2 separate regions of the Homo sapiens genome follow, and region 1 is linked to region 2. Evidence: promoter capture Hi-C in human tissues and cell types (Jung and others, 2019). All regions are on one chromosome and are shown on one strand. Each heading gives the region's core, a stretch centred on a gene start or on the middle of the fragment in contact. The rest is flanking DNA. Distances are from core to core; before and after follow the strand shown.

Region 1 (2,700 bases), core at 5-2,504, 130 kb after region 2:
TTCTTCAGGTTGAATGGCGTCTGCTGTGTCCTAAGTGTTCACTGTCTGCCTCTCTACTCTCTTGTTCGTCCCCGTGCAACAAGTTTTTAGTTTGAGAATTTTTTTCAGTTCTAGAATTTGTTTCGCTTAAAAAAAGTGTTTAGTTCTCTGCTAAGATTTTATATTTGTTCATTCACTACAAGAATATTTTTCTTTATATCCTTTAGCAATAATTAGAATAACTGCTTTAAGGTCCCATCTGCTGATTCTTTATTGTGAGGATGGGTTACGTCTTCATGATTCTTTTTATTTCTAGTGACTTTGAATTGTGTCCTGTTTACTGTGGGTTGTAGACTCTTGATCATGTTAGGTTTCCCTGAAGAGTATTGATTTGCTTGTTTGACAGGCAGTTAACTTGGTCAGGCTCAAATTGCCAACTCTCCCTTTGGCAGATGCTCAAATCTCAGTCCACTTATTTTAGACTCAGCTGATCTGAAGTTGGCCTTGCAAGTTCTGTTCTGCCGTCAGCCAGAGATTTGGGCAGAATTTAGAGACAGAATTCAGGGTCACACTCACCGTGGGTTTCCCCCAGCTTCCCAGCAACTCTGGTAGAACCAAACCCTGTGGATTTTTGTTGGAGTTTTAGCTGTTCCACATAACAAAGTTGGCTGCCATTAGCTTAATAGTTGAGAAAGCAGGAGGTGCCCTGCCCGTTCTTTTTTCCAAATGTCCATCCTTCCCCAGAATATACCTGATGCTAACTAAAAAGTGATTCAGGCAGGTCTCAATCGATAGAGGTTTACGTAGCTGCAGTTGAGGACGTGCCAGGTAACAGGAGCATTTGTGCTTTTTCCAAAGCTTTGAGAAGTTCAGTATTTAAAGGGGAAAGAACAAGCAGGAGGGGAAAAAAGGGAGGCTGGGGAGCAGTGAGGCAGATGCTTAAACATTGTTGTGAGCCTCCGATTGGCCTCAGTAAGCCTGCATTTTACACGGGAAAGGGGGAGTAGAGGAAAGTCAGTTGTGCGTTTTTCTCAGGGTTCTCTTTCACGGGAAGGGTGATTTCTGCTCTTGTCCTTGTCTGTACCTATGAAGATAAGCTGGTACTTGACATTGCCAGGGTGAGATACAATAGAACTCGGTTTTAGGGCTAGTTTTTAGTGGGGGACATATGTTCTGATAGATTTAGGGGCTCACAAGAAATCTCCTTGTGAGCACTTTGTGAGGAAGGCCATCTGGGGAGCTATGTGGCCTTCTGTAGTTGTGGGCACCTGGCGTATGGATGAGGCCATGACACAGGGTTGTGGAATGACAGCTCTCTGTTCGGCAACAAAAGGCAGACAGTGTTGCACAGTTCAGTTCCCAAGCTTCACTTTCCCACTGGCATAGTGAGTTTGGGTCCCAAGATTCTGTTATCTTTCATGCTACTTTTGAGTGCCTCTAGGCAGTTACTTTCTATATGTTTTTTAAAGTTTCGATGTTATTTGCAGGCGAGTCAGTTTGATAGGAGTAATTTGGCTATAGCCAGATTTATAGAACCCATTTCCTTTTAGTTTTTCAAATCACAGTTCTTCCTTTCATCAGCTGTAGAGGGCTCCTTGCAAGCATGCTTTGTCTAGGCTTTCAGTTCAAAACAATAGAAACTGCAATCTGCCTTCCATGCCCTTGTGCCATTTGCTGCATTAGTAGCGGCACACTGTCATTTGTGTTGTGAGGTTGTGATAGCTGGAATGTGCCCAGTTTGCCTAGAGCAGCTTTCTCAGGTATGCGTGCATTCGGCGCTTGTGCACACGCTGCCACCACGTGCGTGATGCTGGCTGGCTGCTGATAGAGCCTGTCCTGGTGGAGCTTATAGTCTGGTGAGGGAGACAGATAATTGAAAATTGTATAAATAGTTAGAAAGCTACAATTGCAGACCTTCTTACGAAAGAAATCATATCAGGCACCAAGAGCAAACTTCAGGGGAAGATCACTGAGCACTGAGGGGTAAATGGGAGGTAACCAGGCAAAAAACGAGAGGAGGTTTTTCCTCACACCAGCACTTCGTCAATTGTCTGACACTGAGTTTCCAGTGGTTCAGTTCTATTCGGACATTTGTCTCCCACGAGACTGCCACATTTCAAACCCAGCTGCAAATGGGGTGCCCAAGCTATATACTCCTACCTGACTGAGTACAGATTTGAGGGTTCCCATGACTCCCTTCAGGTTTGATAATTTGCTGGAATGACCCATGTATGTAACTCAGGAGAGTGCTTGACTTCCTGGTACCAGTTTATTATGAAGGATGCAACTCAGAATGAGATGGATAGAAGAAAGATGTAGGGTAAGGGATGGGAGCAGAGTTTCTAGGCCCTCTGGGTGCAGCACCTCCGTGCTTTCAGCAACCCAAAATCTCTCCAAGCCCTGTCCTTGGTGGTTTCTAATGTAGGCTCTGTTAGGTAGACATGCATGATTGACTAGATCACTGGACATTGCTGAGTGGCATGATCTCCAGCCCCTTGTCCTCCCTTTAGGTTGCTGGTTGGGGCTGAAAGTTCCTGTGATCATGGTGGTCTTTGTGACACCTAGCCCCCATCCTGTAAGCTGTCTAGGGGCCGACCCAGAGTTACCTCGTTAGCATAGACTCGGGTATGACGGAAAGGGGTTCATGATGGGTAACAAAAGACACTTCTGTCACTCAGAAAATTCCAGGGGCTTTGGGAGCCAGGGACAGTTTATCTGATA
Region 2 (2,700 bases), core at 142-2,641:
TGGGTACAAGCCTTGATGTAGCTGTTAATTGCCCTCCTGTTTCCTAGAAAGCTTATAGGGCAGCAGTAGGAAACGGGTTAGGTATGCCTTTCCTGGTAGGAGCCGAGCTTTGGGTCTTATCTCTGCCACTTGTTCGGCATCTGATCAGTAAAAGGGGACCATGATGGGAGGCGAGGCAGTAGACAGCACTTTGTGACGGTTCCTAACCAGTCGCTGTTATCACTGAGCACATTGTCCTCGTAATCCAGAATTCATACTGCCATTTGAATATTTTTTGTATTTGCAAAGAAAATTTTAACCACTTAACTCAAGGCTAGAAATAAAAGCAATTAGTGATTGCAAGAGAAATCCACCGGCAGAAGGCAGGGGGAGACGACTTAAGCCTCTGATTATTTTTGGAAGCTTTATATGCTTTCTAGCCTTTGTCATTGAATGGATTAATGTATGTGCCTGGCATAGACTAAGTGCTTTGCTTGTTAAACTGCCCGCGGGTCATAGCGAGCAAACTGGGGGAGCGCCCAGGGACAGTGGATGGAGTGAGTGGAGACTCGTGTCCTTTTAAGAAGAGGCTCCATTTCTTCCTCGCATGTCAATGTGTGCGTGTCATCAGTTGTTCGAGGAAGCTCGCGCATGACGCGACACTTGCCGTCTGGGCTCTCCAGGTTCGGCCTGCTGCTTTCACAGCCCAGATCTTCGGCGTCCCCGAGACGCAGCCAGGCGCCCGGCCCGGCCCGGCCCGGCCCTCTGCACAGCCCCACTTCAGGCCACGCCGTTTCCTTGACCTTCCCCCGGCAGGGTCTGAAGCGTCACCGTCCGTCTAGAGCAGAGTCGCGCAGGCCCCTGCCCTGCCGGTGAGGTCGGCGCCGCGCTCCGGAGAGTCGGTTCCTCCCGATTCAGACCCATATGGCTTCAGATGGAACCATCATTTCTGTTCCGTCATGACCGGCTTGCAAGGTAGCAAAGCGAAACAAACGTCTCGTTTTCAGCCTGTCCCCGCCACCTTGAAATAAAACCGGCAAAAATAAAAAGAGCATTCTGGGAAGTACTTCATCATTTCAACGCTCACGAATTCAAAACATAAACAAAGGCTTCCGAGTGCCCCGGCCAGGGGCGCGGGGCGCACGGCGGGCCCGGGGCAGGTAAGCGCAGGTGCGCGCCCGCCCCCACCCCCGGCTCCCTCCCCATCCGCTCCCCGCTCCCCTTCCCCTTTCCCTTCCCCGCCCGCTCCCAGCCGCCGCCGCCGCCCCGCGCACGGCCTGGAGCGGAGGCTGCGCAGGGCGCGGGGCGGCGCGGGCCGGGCGCGGGCCGGGCGGACGGCCGCGTCTTTCTTCTCCTGGCGGTGATGTCATTGGGCGACGGCGGCCGAGGCCGGGGGGCGGCGGCGGGCGCCCGCAGGTTCCCGAGCCGCTCCTGAGAAGGCGCCTGACAGCGGGCCGGGGCGCACGGAGAAGCGGGCCGGGCCGGACCTGCTGGGCCGCGCCGAGCCAATCGCCGGCGCCGGCCGCTCGATGGGCGAGGCGGCGGCGGCGGCGGCGGGGGCCGCGGGCCGGGCCGCCGCTCCGAGGTGAAGGCGCGCGCCCCTCCCCGCCTGCCTCCCGGGCCGCAGCGATGAATTCCGCCGAGCAAACCGTTACGTGGCTCATCACTCTGGGGGTGCTGGAGTCGCCCAAAAAAACCATCTCGGACCCGGAGGGCTTTCTGCAGGCGTCGCTGAAGGATGGGGTGGTCCTCTGCAGGCTGCTGGAGCGCCTGCTCCCCGGGACCATCGAGAAAGTAAGTCCCGGCCCGCGCCCCCGCCCGCGCCCCCCGGTCCGGCCCGCTGCGGCCCGGGATGCGCGCGGAGCACCTGAGGCCGGCCGCGCTCGGGAAACCCGTGCGCCCTCCTTTGTGCGCGGAGCGGCGGCGCGGCCGGCGCCAGGACCGTGGCGGGAGCTCGGGGGGCGCCATTGTGTGCGGGGCAGGGGGAGGGGGCCGGGGAGCGGGGTCGGGGGGAGGGGCGGCGCGGGCGGCGGGGGTCCCCGGGAAGGAGAGTGCACCGCAGCGAGGAGACGGGGCTTCTGCGCCGCCCGAACGCTAAGTTGCCCCTCCGCGTGGGGGGCCGGCCCCGCTCCCTGGCAGCAGCCGCATCGGAAACCGCGTTCCGACGCGGTGCGGCTCACTCCGCTGGCTTTGTGTGGACAGTTCTTGCCGGTGGCGTTGCGTGAGTTTCGCCTCCCAGGTTAATTGACCGGTTGCTCTGTATTTTTAAAGAGGCACGCATCTGTAGCTGAGGGCTGCGCTGTGAAACGATCTACTACTTTCCCCTCGAGAAAATTCCCCACCTATCCGAGCCGAGAGGACGGCAGACACAGGGTCTAAGTCCTGGCACTCTTCAAGGCTTGTTAAAATTCTAGATTTCGTTCTCAGGTCCCTCCCTCGTTCTGAACAGAACCTTTAGTCCTGCAGGCACTGCTTCTCCCTTCCGGCTGGTGGTTCCCAGGCTGGAGCGTGTGAACCCTGACCCGAATCTCTGGAAGTGATTAAAGTTTGTTTTCATCGCCCACAAGCCGGCCAGCAGGGCCGAGGAGGCAGGAGAGTTTCTAAAAACGATGTCTCCCTGTAGCTCAAAATACTAAAATCTTATTCCCAGGGTGTTTCTTCGGGGGGTGGGGTGGGGGTGGGGGTGGCCAATATATAGCGTTAAGATCAACAGTTATTTAA

What was found. Contacts are between HindIII fragments. The study calls those that stand out against the background at their distance.
Region 1: a contact is called between a fragment that was not itself captured here and the fragment with the promoter of ARHGEF7 in region 2, in 2 of the 25 tissues and cell types used here (aorta and small bowel).

Annotation. Positions count from the first base shown.
Region 1 is chr13:111,248,569-111,251,268 of GRCh38, forward strand. All of the region lies in intron 8 of ARHGEF7 (Rho guanine nucleotide exchange factor 7), which reads left to right. Among named protein-coding and RNA genes, the nearest start is that of TEX29, 71 kb to the right of the region's middle. The HindIII fragment of the contact is 4,062 bases long and covers 1-2,700 here.
Region 2 is chr13:111,113,919-111,116,618 of GRCh38, forward strand. It overlaps ARHGEF7 (Rho guanine nucleotide exchange factor 7), which reads left to right and starts at 1,392. Exons shown (of 22, transcript NM_001354046.2): 1 at 1,392-1,773. The coding sequence starts at 1,609. It overlaps ARHGEF7-AS2 (ARHGEF7 antisense RNA 2), which reads right to left and starts at 1,760. Exons shown (of 2, transcript NR_046667.1): 1 at 1,629-1,760; 2 at 1-1,000. RefSeq lists a silencer at 1,265-1,354. The HindIII fragment of the contact is 8,096 bases long and covers 227-2,700 here.